Linked DNA regions of Homo sapiens: regions 2 and 3 are each linked to region 1. The links are contacts of gene promoters, found by promoter capture Hi-C in human tissues and cell types (Jung and others, 2019). All regions are on one chromosome and are shown on one strand. Each heading gives the region's core, a stretch centred on a gene start or on the middle of the fragment in contact. The rest is flanking DNA. Distances are from core to core; before and after follow the strand shown.

Region 1 (4,605 bases), core at 602-3,101:
AACAATACCACAGTCAACTCCTAACAAATCTCAAGAACAATTACACTTTTCACTCTTCTTATGACATTAAAAAAGAAGACAGATGGTGACACCATGTGAACTATTCATGTCATTCTCACATTACTTAGAGTGTGAAATAATAATCCTGCGTATTAAAGCGGGATGGTAAAAATAAATTCTTCTTGGTCCACCTGAACAGACACAGCATTTATTATCTCACCTATGACCTGCCGCGGGATGGGGCTGGAAGGACTGGAGTCAAGGCTCAGTGAAACTGTCTTACAAATAAGGAATTCCAATTTTCATTCTGCGTTTAGCTTTAGTTTTTGCAAAGTTATGCTCTATAAACTCAAGCTCTGAAAGGATCCAAGGTTTAAAGCCACGCTTTTGAGGCAGCAGTTCTCTTGCGGATGTAAAACTTTCAGAATTTAGAGTGTCAAGTTTTGCCTTTCTCTTATTTATTTTTTGTAATGAATCCACACTCTTTCCCCATTAGGAACAGGAGGTGTTGGAAAAAGCTAATAGCTTTACAAAGGAGAAATTAAACAGATACATTTTCTCATTCACAAACCCTTGTACAGATTTAAAGCATACTAAGAAAAACGACCATCTTATTTTATACCAGCTCAGCGGGGAGGCTCGGATCTCCGGTGCAGAGATAGGACAGGAAGAGGTGTGCGGCCAATTTTGTAACCAACCCTCCTTACTCCTAACTCCTCGCCTCACTGTGCCTCGGGTTTGGGAGATCCAAACGAGAATGCTCGTGAGAAAGCCACTGCAAACGGGAAAGTGCTGGGCGCAGGCAAGGAGGCATTCTCTCTGTTTAAGAAAGGTGCCACATTTGCAGAACAGGGATCGCTGAATATGCGAGCTTCCGCCAAGAAATAAATCACACCTATCCACCTCTCCTTCATTCCTCGCACACAAGCCTTGTCGTTTAGCTCATCCTTCCCACTAGAAAACAGCAAAGGATTGCATTGGAGCAGCAATCAGCAGATGCCACGCTGAGCTCAGAGACAAGCAGTGTAGACGGGACAGGCGTCCCAATACCGCTAAGCCACCACCGCCAGCCCGCTGGGTTCTGAGCAGTTTCCCCAGGTGAGTCACTTCCTGGAATCCTCTGGCAGCGGCTCTTCCCGTCACTCGCACAGGCCATCTTCCAGTTCCGAGCTGCCTCGGCGGGTCCCGGCGGCTGGGACCCCACTTCCCCGCTGTCTGCCCCCGCCCGGGGCCGCGCGCCGCACCCTGCACACCACCGACCGCTGTGTCCTTGGCAAAGTTTCTCAGCCTCTCTGTGCCTCAGTTGACTCATCGGAAAAACTGAGGACAAAACATCCACATCCCAGGGATGTTGCATGGATTCACGAGCAGCCACAGAACCCCTGGGGCCCCGGGAACCCTGCGGCCGGCGGGGTCCCCCGTCGCACGCTCTCCGGCCCTAGGAGGAGCCCGAGGCTGCGGAGGGCGGGTCCGCGAGGCCGGGTGCCGGGGCCGGGGGAAAAGCGCCGGGGTGGACGGCGGCAGGTGACCTTCCCCATTTGGCCATGCCTTCCTGGGGACCGCGGCCTGGAAAAAGGGACGTAGGCTACGCGGCCTCGGCGGCGGAAAGGCCGCGCGGGCCGGTAAGTCGGGGGGCAGCAACAGGAGGCCACTCACCACCACATGCGCCCCGGGCAGGGCGAGGGGCTTGGGGCTGATGAGCGGAGACACCATGTACAGCAGCAGCACGAAGGCCACGAGGAAGGCGGCAGCCAGCAGCAGCATCGCTCCGCGGGGCCAGGGGCCCGGAGCGGCCGGGCGGGGGCCGCCGGGCAAGGCGCGCAGGGCTGGGCTGCGGCGAGGCGAGAATCACGCGCGGCGGGCGGGCGCCTGGAGTGTTTGGGTTTGCGGGCCGGGGCGGGCCGCGGCGGAGGGGAAGAGGAGGAGCCGGCGCGCGCGCCACCCAGGCGGGGCGGTGCTTCCAGGGGGCGAGTAGGCCGCCACCGCCACCGCCACCGCCACCACTGCCAGAATCGCCTCTCGGGGGTCGCCGGGTGTCTCCCACTCCCCCGGCCTCGGGACGGGGCCCGCAGTCCGCAGCCTCTCCCGTGGAAACCGGGCCTCCCGTCCCTGTGCGTCGCGAGCGGGCTCCGGACAGCGCCAGATGCGAGCGCGCCGGGAAGGGCTGCGAAGACTCGCTCTTCGGGAGCTCGAATGGCTTCTTAGGACCCCGCAGGGCGGGTTTCCAGGCCTGCCACGGCCTCCAGTGTGGGCGTGACGAGCGCTCCTCCCTGGAGTTCAGCCCTCGGCTTGGGACTGCCCGCTGGGTTGCTCGGAGGCCCCGGAGCATCGGAAAGGGCGGCTGGAGGCTCCCGGAGCGGGCTCAGCCTGGGAGCCCAGCGACTACGCTCTGAAATCCCGGGCTCCATTCCATATTTTTTGGCGTTTTTAGAAGATGGTCACGGCCCACTTTCGCTTTTCAGAGGACCGGAAAGCCTTAACAGGGAGTTTTGAGGAATCACTAAGGTAATTCAATTTCATTGAGTTCAGAGTTCATCTTTACCAAGCAGGTTCAAAACAAATAAATAACGCAAACAACTCAGCTTTATTAAGGTCTCATTCACGTACTATACCATACAATTCCCGATTTAACGTGCGTAATAGGCCGGGCGAGGTAGCTCGCGCCTGTAATCCCCGACCTTTGGGAGGCTGAGGCGGGCGGATCTCTTCAGGTCTGGAGTTCGAGACCAGCCTGGCCATGATGGTGAAACCCCCGTCTCTACTAAAAATACAAAAAATCACCCGGGCATGGTGGCGTATGCTTGTAATCCCAGCTACCCTGGAGGCTGAGGCAGGAGAATCGCTTGAACCCGGGAGGCAGAGATTGCGGTGAGATCGCGCCACTGCACTCCAGCCTGGGTGACAGATCAAGACTCCGTCTCAAAAATAAATAAATAAATAAAGCTTATAATAAATTGTCTTTAATATAGTCACAGTTGTAGACCCATCACTACCATAAATTTTAGAACATTTTTGTCACAACCCCCCAAAATCCTATACTCATTGGCAGTCACGACCCATTTCCTCCCAAGCCCCGCCCAAGCCTAAGCAATCCCTCATGTTTCTGTCTCTATAATCTTGCCTATTCGGGATATTTCACATAAATGGAATCATATAATATGTAGCCTTTTTCATCCTATCTTTCACTTACTGTAATGTTTTCAAGGTTCATCCATGATATGAAGTACTACATGTTAATACTTCATTTATTTTTATTGCCAAATAATATCCCATTGTATGACTATACGACATTTTAATTTTCCATTCATCAATTGAGGAATATTTAGGTTGTTTCCACTTTTTGACTATTAGAATTATGCTAACTGTAAATATTCATTTACCGGTTTTTGTGTGGGCATTATGTTTCATTTCTCTTGGGTACATGCCTAGTAGGGGAGTTGCTACATCTTACGGCAACTCTATGTTTAACTATTTGAGGAATTGCCAGAAGTTTTCCAAAGTGAGTACAACATTTTGTGTTCCCACCAGCAGTGTATGTGGGTTCCAATTTCTCTACATCTTCACTAACAGTTGTTATCATCCGTCTTTCTGATTATAGCTTTTTTAGTTGGTGTGAAGTCTCATTGTGATTTTAATTTGCATAGAGGCACATATTTTTGTTTGCTTACTTGCTTTTCATTTTTGTTGTTGTTTCTAGAAATACTAGGGAGCGAAGGAGAAAAAAAAGTTTTTCTTTTCCTTTTTTTCTTGACTTACAGCAGTTAGCCAAACTGCAAAATTTGAAGGCATAATGTCCAAGACTTCTGATATCAATGCAAGTTTAGAGGTTCCTGAACCACCCTCAGGTTTGATCATTCACTGGAAGGACTCACAGAACTCACTGAAAGCCATTATGCTCATAGTTATGGTTTATTATGGGGAAAGAATACAGATCAAAGTCAGCTAAGGAAAGAAATGCCTAAGGCAGAGTCTGGAGGGCTCCAAATGCAAAGCTCCTGTTGTCATCTCCCACGGAGTCAGGCTGTGTTACCTTCCCAGCATTGGTATGTGACAGTATGCTTGGAGTATTGTCAACCAGGGACACTTGTCTGAGCTTCTGTGTCCAGAGTTTTTACTGGGACTCCAGCACATAGGCTTGATCAATTGTCCACTTGGTTGGACTGAGACTCCAACTAGACTGATAGTGCATGACAAAAGCCCCCTAATTCACATACTTGGTCTCTCTGGAATGGCCAGTCTCCACCCTAAAATCCAGTTTGCCCAGTCCCCATCTAAACAGAGGTACTCCTATCAGGTATGACGTAGATAACCTCCCATAAGCCAAGGGCAAAAGTCAAACCTTCTCTTTGGGCAAGACTGAATCCTTTACAACACGGCTGCCACCTGGCCTTTGGCCAAAGCTCTCTTACAGTAAAATGAACATATATCTGACATTTGGAGGAGCCAGTGTAGAGTAGGAGGCTTTTAACTCAATTTCTCAATACATTGGCCATCAGTGTGAACATTAAAACCTCACTTACAATCCCAGAGTTACACTGTATTATGATATGGTAGTAAACATAATTTGAAAAATTAGAGTCAAAAGATAGTGGCAGATAGATATAA
Region 2 (4,605 bases), core at 784-3,283, 390 kb before region 1:
TTCATATCTTAGCTCTGCCACTTGTAGGTTGTGACCTTTAAACCTCTCTAAGCCTCAGTTTTCTCATCTGTAAAGTGGGAATAATCATGCATCTGTCCTATCTTACAAGGTTGGTATGACTTGTAAACTATGAACGTCTATGTAAGTGTACTAGTTGTTATTTTGGTTCATACCTCATGTCCCATTTGAGTACACAGTAAGCAGTTTTCAACTGGGGGCAGTTTGCTTCCCCACAAGACATTTGGCAACATATGGAGACATTTTTGGTCATCACAGCTGGGGCGGAGAGTGCAATTGACATGCAGTGGATTGAGGCCACTGAGCATCCTACAGCGCTGCTAGGACAATGCTGCTCAACACCCCACAATGCACAGGGCAGTCTCCACAACACAGACTGTGGTGTGTGTGTTTGGAGGGCGTGTCTCAAGGAAGAGAAGTAAAATACAATACAAAACAAAACCTCGTTGTTGAGTATTAAGCAATGCAAACAAAAGCAGGGAAGAGGCGAGGCACAGAAAACAAGAGAAGTCTGACGTGCAAACCATGATTCATGTAGGTCACAGAAATCATTTACCTTCAATTGTGTTTGGCATAATGTTGAACTAAAGTTGAAATCAGTGCATTCTGTACACATTAGACTGTCTTCTGCTCCCTAGCACAGTGTCTACCATCCATGTGCATCCTCTCTGCTCCAAGAATAGACAGAGAACAAATTCACACAGACTCATTTGCACAGAATCCCATGTATAGCTTGAGTCTTTCTGTTTCTTTCTTAAGGCCCTCATCAAAGCCTGTGTGGAGTCAGTCTTTTTTCTCTACTGGACTATAAGCTTTCACCAGAGTCCACCCCAAACTGTACATGGTTCTATGGGTTTTATCAACAATGTAAGACTGGAAACCTCTTGAAGGTAGATGTTTCTTTGCAGGTCACTGCTGTCTGCCCACGTCATTTTTTCAGGCACAGGGCAGATGACTGACACTTTGATGAATTAGCGAATGGAGCAGAACTCCTGGAGCCCATGGTGGAAGCTTCATTGCTCATGAATCACAAAACCATTGGTTTTGATAGAGAGAAATCTAAAGGGATGGACAGAACAGCAAGAACAGTTTCTGCCAAATTCCATGCTTTGGGGACAGATTATGTCAGTAGAATCAAGGCAGTTTAAGGTTGTGCTTGAAGCCCATCTTACTAATTTTACTAATAGGAATGCTTACCTGCTTATAAGTGTGGTGTGGCAAAGTTGTGTGAGAAGCTGGGAAAGACATCCCTAGGACAAGTAAACACCTTGCCAAATCCCAAATAAAGGGAAGTGGTAGGACTGGAAAGGAAATGGATATTCTGTGGAAGAAACACTTTGTCATCCCAGACAGGGATTTGTCATAATGAAGCCTTTCCTGGAAAGAAGTGTTAAAACTAGGGCATGTAGAGGTATGTCATGGACCTGAGAATCTCAAAATTTGAAGAATAAAGAACCAAGCAGGTACACGTGGCAAAAAAAAAAAAAAAAAAAAAAAAACCCAGGTCTTTTTATTGGCAAGTGGTCTGGCACTTTGGTAATTGATTTAAATAGCATGCACACAGCTGAACTAAAGCCAGCAGATCTTGCCTTCTCCATTGGTCAACAGGAAATCAAGTTCAAGGAAGTTGTAAGAATTGGCATTTCTTCTTTAGCATCTGTTCTCCTGACATGAGCATTCTTACCCACCTAGTCAAACCAAGGTTTTCTCCACCGCTTAAGTACTTTCAAGTCCTCTCTGGACCTTTAGACACTACTGCCTCTTGTGATCATGGAGAGCAATGGAAGATTTAGGAGCATTGTCTTGATATATGCCTGCGTCATGTGTCTTTGCTCAGGACTGGCTTCTATCAGAAAGTCTCTTGCTACCTCAGAGTCTTCCTACACCCAGCCCGTCTGAGGGCCGATCCTTGATCACCATGTTCACCAAGGGAGGGAAGATGTAAACCCATGTTTACAGGAGGAGCTAGCCAGCTATGCTTGCTGTGTAAGGCTAGATGATGGCTTGCTTTAGATAAACAGCAGGACTTGTGACCTAGTGTGAATGGGGTCCCAGTAACACACATAACCGAAATCTTTTCCTTTTGTCCCTACTGCTCCTTACCTGCCCAGGCCTACTACCTGGGGTTTCTGATGACAGGTGCACATTAACTACTCACTACAGAGTGAGCCCTTCTTTCCTCTGTGGGCCACACAGCACTTCTCTGTGGTCCTACAGTCGAGACAGTCGAGGGACCCGCAGGGAACCTGCACAGTTGCCGCAGGTGCTCTGTATTAACTGTCTGTCTGCAAACCCTTGTTCTTCCAGGATGGCAAGGTGAACGGAGTGACTGAGTCCACGCGCATCCTGGGCTACACCTTCCTCCATCCCAGTGTGGTGCCTCGCCCCCACGTGCAGTCCGTGCTCCTGACTCCCCAGGATGAGTTCTTCATCCTAGGCAGTAAGGGGTTGTGGGACAGCCTGTCCGTCGAGGAGGCCGTGGAAGCCGTGCGCAACGTGCCCGATGCCCTGGCTGCTGCCAAGAAGCTGTGTACCCTGGCCCAGAGCTACGGCTGCCACGACAGCATCAGCGCTGTGGTGGTGCAGCTCAGTGTCACTGAGGACAGCTTCTGCTGCTGCGAGCTCAGCGCCGGTGGGGCTGTGCCACCACCCAGTCCTGGCATCTTTCCTCCCTCAGTGAACATGGTGATCAAGGATCGGCCCTCAGATGGGCTGGGCGTGCCGTCCTCCAGCAGCGGCATGGCTTCCGAGATTAGCAGTGAGCTCTCCACTTCTGAGATGAGCAGCGAGGTGGGGTCAACAGCCTCCGATGAGCCCCCGCCCGGAGCCCTAAGCGAGAACAGCCCTGCCTACCCCAGTGAGCAGCGCTGCATGCTCCACCCCATCTGTCTGTCCAACTCCTTCCAGCGCCAGCTATCCAGCGCCACGTTCTCTAGCGCCTTCTCCGACAACGGCCTTGACAGTGACGATGAGGAGCCCATCGAGGGCGTCTTCACCAACGGCAGCCGGGTGGAGGTGGAGGTGGACATCCACTGCAGCCGGGCCAAGGAGAAGGAGAAACAGCAGCACCTGCTTCAGGTGCCAGCAGAGGCCAGTGATGAGGGCATTGTCATCAGCGCCAACGAGGATGAGCCAGGTCTGCCCAGGAAGGCAGACTTCTCTGCCGTTGGGACCATTGGGCGCCGGAGGGCCAATGGCTCTGTTGCGCCCCAGGAAAGGAGCCACAATGTGATAGAGGTGGCTACAGACGCACCTCTTCGAAAGCCTGGAGGCTATTTTGCTGCCCCGGCTCAGCCGGATCCTGATGATCAGTTTATCATACCCCCGGAGCTGGAAGAGGAGGTCAAAGAAATCATGAAGCATCACCAGGAGCAACAGCAGCAGCAGCAGCCGCCACCACCCCCTCAGCTCCAGCCGCAGCTGCCGCGGCACTACCAGCTGGACCAGCTGCCAGATTATTACGACACGCCACTATGACCCAGCCGAGCTGTTTAACAAATAAACTAACCACAAAAGACTGAGTTGCAAGAGTCTCCCAGGCTCACATTAAACCAGGGGTTTTACTCCACATCCTTCCCCCAGACACTGTTCCCAACCTGTCATCGCAGCTAATCTGTAGGTTCTCTTTCTTTGGGTTATTTTTTTAAGTAATCACCACTTTCTTCTAGTGATGCTTTACCAATATGATTTACATTTGTTAACTTCTCCCCCTAACATATCAGATATGTAAAGACAAAGAACAAAAGGTTTAATATATTACAGAGAAACAGTTAATGATAATGTAATATTTTTTAAAATGGCTTTTTGTTGTTTGTTTGGAAGGCAGGGCAGGCTGCCGTTGCTAAATGATTTAATAATATTGTAATTCTGTATTTCTTTGGGGGGAAAAGGCTTTTGTTTTGTTTTGTTTTGTTTTGTTTTGTTTTTGTCTTGAAAATAATAGACATTTGTAGAATATGGAGACTAACTCCTAGGAGTTGCTTTACTCTGTCAGGTGACTTAAGTCACTGGGATTCACTAATTTTCTCTGAGAGAACAGCTGATTGAGAATTTCCATTGTAAATAGCTCAGTGTTGTATAGTGAGGCTTACGATGTTTTGTAGTCTTGGCGTAAGGACACAGCCCAAGTAACTGACGTTTCCCCTCCCCCTCCCCTCTGAGGAGCCTGCCTGCCTCACAACTCACCCTCACTTCACTGAATGAGGAGGCTGAGCAGCTGCAGTGTTTCTGTCCGGAGGAAATGGATCTTAGGCCACTGGACAAGAACCTGCACCCAAGGGCCCTGAACCCATTTTCCTCCCCTGTCCCAGCCTTCCCACTTTGACAGACACTTTTAACTGTGTTCCTTACTGCTGCCACAATCAGCATGGTTGTATAGTGCCCCATTAGGCCATTTACATACCCAGAGTTATACTCAAGCAGAATGCACAAATGGACATGTCATAATTTTTGTTACAATAAATATGAAATTTACAAGTATTTACAAGTATCTGCTTTTGTCTCAGCAGCCAGATGTTTCTTGGAGACAGTCACACTAGCTTGCGTTTAGAAAGAATGGATGGAATATTGGGGTTATCAGATATTTCT
Region 3 (4,605 bases), core at 1,143-3,642, 320 kb before region 1:
GTCCTTCTCTTGAATCTCCACATAGCACTTTGAACGATGCTGTACTGACATAGCCAGGAAATGCTGATGAAATTAGTCAATGAATGAATGATGCAACCTGTAGAATCTGTGTGAATGGGCAAGTAGCCATGAGGATAAAGATAATTTTCTGGATTTGAAGTATAAGCAATTTCCCCTCTAATCAAATGACTATAAATTTAGGGAAAATTTAGAAATCCAATATCCCAGACAGAAAGATCCTGGATCTCTTCTTAGCTCAGGAACTATATATTCTTGGTTGTCACTTTATTTATCAGTATGGCAAAAGTCTCATCCATAATGGGACAAATGATAACATCTCATAGCATTGTTATAGGAATCATTTGAGACAGTGCTTTGTAAACTATAGAGCTCTATTAACATTTTAATTACTTTTTCCTTGGGATTATAAGTCAATTTTGCCTCTTTCTTTTAGAATAATGGGAGTTTAGAATCATGGCCTTCATGGAGTCCATCCTCTCATTTGGTAGAAGAGGAGACTGAGGCCCAGAGAAGGGCAGTGGGTTACCCAAGATCACACAGCCAGGCTGCGGCAGTGTTGAGACTGGGATCCACACTACTGAGTTTGGTGTACCTTCTTGTAAGACAGCTCAACCCAGTGTGTCTGCTTTGGGTTCAGAGATTTCAATTCAGAATTTTTTGTAAGTTCTATAATTTAAAAGTGAAATCGTGTAATTTAAAAGTGAGAAAAGAACTAGTCAAGTATGAAAGAATTCAAGGTTTTGCATATCAGAAAGTCCTAAGACTCAAATGAGCAAATTATAACAAGTTAGCTCCTGAGTCCAACAGAGTCTTCTGTCTTATTTCCAGTAAAGTGTTGATCCCTTCTTTCTTGAGTGCAGAGCAGACACCAACAATGTGACTGCTTTATGAGCAAACAGCAGTGCAGTAAAACGGCTGTTCTGGTTTCAGGATACTGTATATAGGTGTGTGTTGATGTTACTATGCTGCATTCTGGAAGGACCTGGGAAGAAATTAAGTTCTAGAAAATGAATTACATCCAATAAAGTCTTTGGAAATCTCATTCGAGGAACTCAATTCCCAAAATCATATGTGAATTTATATATTTTAGGAGGCAATGACAGAAAAACAGCTATTATTTATTGAGCTCTTTGCGATGCCAGGCATGGTGATTAAAAACCTGATCAGTATTATTTCCCCTAGTCCTTTCAACAACCATTTTTGAAATGAGAAAACTAAGGCTCAGAAATGTTAAGTGGCCTTCCCAAGTCAGAGAACAAATAAGTTGCAAGAGTGAGATTTAAACCAAGGTAATGTAGTTTTAAAGCCTGTGTGTTGAGTTCTTAGACTATCAGGCACGGAAGAAAGCTTGTTGCTGACTTAGCGACATGACTTAGAACTTGATAACGTCTCTGGAAGAAAACTAAGAGTGCCAGAATGTTACAGTCTCAAAATATACTAAGTGCTAAAAAATTATAGGAAAGACATGACTTTATTTTTAAAAGTGTGGGTTCTATTTAGCCCCTCATTTGGGATTAGATGGCATCGTATGTTTTTAAGAGAAAATCATCTGCGGACAAGGAAAACATGTATTATTCAAAAGCTTGGGGTAAGGTTGGAGAAAGGCTGGGGAGTCAATGCTGAGAACACCTTTCTCCATGGCAGACTCAGACAGGACTGGGAATAATGAACAACACATCCAATGATTTAAATTCCCACCGGCGCTTAGCAATAGTGGCCCCAGCCTCCAATGGCCCCCTTCAGATATGCTCTCCGGAGACACACAATGGAAGTGCACTTGCCAAACCACAGTGGCTTCGAGATGAGTCTACCAGAGCCTCACCCCACCCCAGCCTCTATAATATATGTCATATGATCTATGAGTTATAATATAATTTTATATATTATATAACACATGTATTATTTATAACTCATGTATAGTATATAATATTTTTACTTCACTATAATTAATATATATTTAATATAATTTTAATGTACCTATATTAAATATATTTAATGTACTATATATTATATATGAAATATATATATAATATATAATGTGTTATAATATTATATATAAATATATAGGAGGAGCTTAGGATTATATATAATATGGTAATAAACCCAGATAAATTATTTTTGGGATATTTAGAAACAAAGCCAATCATCAGAGGCCCATCCTGGGTGACTTAATAACTTGAGTCTTCTATTTAAATCACTTTAACAGCCTGTAATCACAGCACTTAGGGAGGCCGAGGCAGTAGGATCACCTGAGGTCAGGAGTTTGAGACCAGCCTGGCCAACATGGTGAAACCCCGTCCCTACTAAAAATACAAAAATTGGCCGGGCACGGTGGCTCATGCCTGTAATCCCAGCACTTTGGGAGGCCGAGGCGGGTGGATCACCTGAGGTCAGGAGTTCAAGACCAGCCTGACCAACCTGGAGAAACCCTGTTTCTACTAAAAATACAAAATTAGCCAGGTGTAGTGGCGCATGCCTGTAATTCCAGCTACTCGAGAGGCTGAGGCAGGAGAATCGCTTGAACCCAGAAGGTGGAGGTTGCGGTGAACCGAGATTGCGCCATTGCACTCCAGCCTGGGCAACAAGAGCAAAACTCCGTCTCAAAAACAAAACAAAAATTAACCCGGCGTGGTGGTGGATGCCTGCAATCCCAGCCACTTTGGGAGACTGAGGCAAGAGAATTGCTTGAACCTGGTATGTGGAGGCGGCAGTGAGCCGAGATCACACCATTGCATTCCAGCCTGGCAACAAGAGTGAGACTCCATCTCAGAAACAAACAAACAAATCACTTTAACAAACAAACTATAAAGTACTTACCATACATGCCAGGCACTCTGCCAGGCATCCTGGGCAATTCAAAGATGATTTGCCTCTGGCCTGCTTAGAGTGGCTTAGATGGAAAATTCCATTTCATGACCTCTCTTTCCTCCATGTCTTCTCAGACCTGTCTAAACTGGTAAGCGCTGCACCCATTCAGGTTGTGGGTAACAGCTGAGATTGCAGTGTGTGTCCCACACTGGCATCTACAGGGCTCCAAGAGTCTGAGGATGTGGTGGGGGCCATGAGTTCCGTACAATACATATTTTTTGATGCTAATTTTTAAAGATCTTAATAGAAGTGAATGCAGCATCATTTGGTGACCACTCCAAAACTAAATCCCTGCCCAGGAGTGAGGTACCTGCATTTGTATTTACAATCTTTTTGTCACCAAGGAACATATAATTGTCCTGGTCTACTGCCAGAAGAGTGGGGTCTGAAAAGGAGAGATCTTGGCAGACGAAACTGTGACACCACCTTGTGCCAACTGAACACAAAGATTTCAACTAGTTAGAGAAGAGGCAAGGAAATCACTGAGCCATTAGATGCCCCCCAAGAATACAGGGATGTCAAAATTAAACAAAACAACAAAACTGCTGCCACAGCAATGAGTGCTGTTTCATAGAGAGCAGCAATTTAGCTTCAACAAACAAGATCAACAGTCCTGTGAGGTAACATTTTAATTTTGTTGGCTTTGTGATTTGTTTTGTTTGTTTGTTTGTTTTTTGAGACGAAGTCTTGCTCTGTCGCCCAGGCTGCAGTGCAGTGGCATGATCTTGGCTCACTGCAACCTCTGCCTCCCAGGTTCAAGAGATTCTCCTGCCTTAGCCTCCTGAGTAGCTGGGATTACAGGCGCCCACCACCATGCCCTGCTAATTTTTGTATTTTTAGTACAGAGAGGGTTTCACCATGTTGGCCATGCTGGTGTTGAACTCCTGACCTCAGGTGATCGGCTCATCTCAGCCTCCCAAAGTGTTGGGATTACAGGCGTGAGCCACCATGCCCAGCCTGTGATTTGTTTTTGACTTGTAAATTTGTTTTTATAAATCAATGCATAAGAGCTATGAGTATAAAGGATTAAATATGGAGTTTTGTATTTGTAAGCAGCATTACTATAGAAAAAAATTTAAGGCAATAAAGGGGGTCCACAACATATTTTCCCCTGAAAAGGGGTCCAGGCCAGGCGTGGTGGCTCACACCTGGAGTTCCAGACTTTTGGAGGCTGAGGCGGGAGGGTTGCTTGAGCCCAGGAGTTCAAGAGCAGCCTGGGTAACATAGTAAGACTCCATCTCTAAAAAAATTTTAAAAATTAGCCAGGTGTGGTGGCATGCATCCGTAGTCCCAGCTACTCAGGAGGCTGAGGCAGGAGGATTGCTTGAGCTGAGGAGTTCAAAGCTACCATGAGCCATGATGGCACCACAGCACTCCAGCCTGGGCAACAGAGCGAGACCCTGTATCCAAAAATAAAAAATAAATTTAAAACTGTTCATATGTTGCTGAAGCTTAAAAACACTCAGGTGACAGCAAAGGGAACATTTAGCCACACCGGGCATTGGAGGCTGGTTGCCTGTTCACAGAAGCACAGGTGAAAGAGAATGAAAAACTGTTCTGTCTTATATCAAGAAACCCAAGTTACCTGAAGAATGGACTTCAGACCCTTCTCCTGTAGCTTATATAATAATTGAAACAAAACTAGATTTCTCTTGCACACATGTTTTGGCTGACATTTAATTTTTTCATCATATGTTAATATAGTCACAAAAGACA

The links. The method cuts DNA at HindIII sites, captures the fragments that hold promoters and counts their contacts. A contact is called where the count stands out against the background at its distance.
Region 2: a contact is called between a fragment that was not itself captured here and the fragment with the promoter of KDSR in region 1, in 2 of the 25 tissues and cell types used here (lymphoblastoid cells and spleen).
Region 3: a fragment that was not itself captured here is called in contact with the fragment with the promoter of KDSR in region 1 in 2 of the 25 tissues and cell types used here (lymphoblastoid cells and spleen).

Annotation. Positions count from the first base shown.
Region 1 is chr18:63,365,355-63,369,959 of GRCh38, forward strand. KDSR (3-ketodihydrosphingosine reductase) reads right to left here and starts at 1,852. Exons shown (of 10, transcript NM_002035.4): 1 at 1,657-1,852. The coding sequence starts at 1,764. It overlaps KDSR-DT (KDSR divergent transcript), which reads left to right and starts at 1,970. Exons shown (of 2, transcript NR_186602.1): 1 at 1,970-2,505. It overlaps LOC124904317 (a long non-coding RNA gene), which reads right to left and starts at 1,646. Exons shown (of 2, transcript XR_007066400.1): 1 at 896-1,646. RefSeq lists enhancers at 942-1,236, 1,276-2,223 and silencers at 1,085-1,134, 1,485-1,544, 1,615-2,064, 2,175-2,224. The HindIII fragment of the contact is 17,335 bases long and covers 1-4,605 here.
Region 2 is chr18:62,975,937-62,980,541 of GRCh38, forward strand. It overlaps PHLPP1 (PH domain and leucine rich repeat protein phosphatase 1), which reads left to right. Exons shown (of 17, transcript NM_194449.4): 17 at 2,326-4,497. The coding sequence ends at 3,495. Among named protein-coding and RNA genes, the nearest start is that of PHLPP1, 260 kb to the left of the region's middle. The HindIII fragment of the contact is 3,752 bases long and covers 158-3,909 here.
Region 3 is chr18:63,043,703-63,048,307 of GRCh38, forward strand. No RefSeq gene overlaps it. Among named protein-coding and RNA genes, the nearest start is that of BCL2, 270 kb to the right of the region's middle. The HindIII fragment of the contact is 4,462 bases long and covers 162-4,605 here.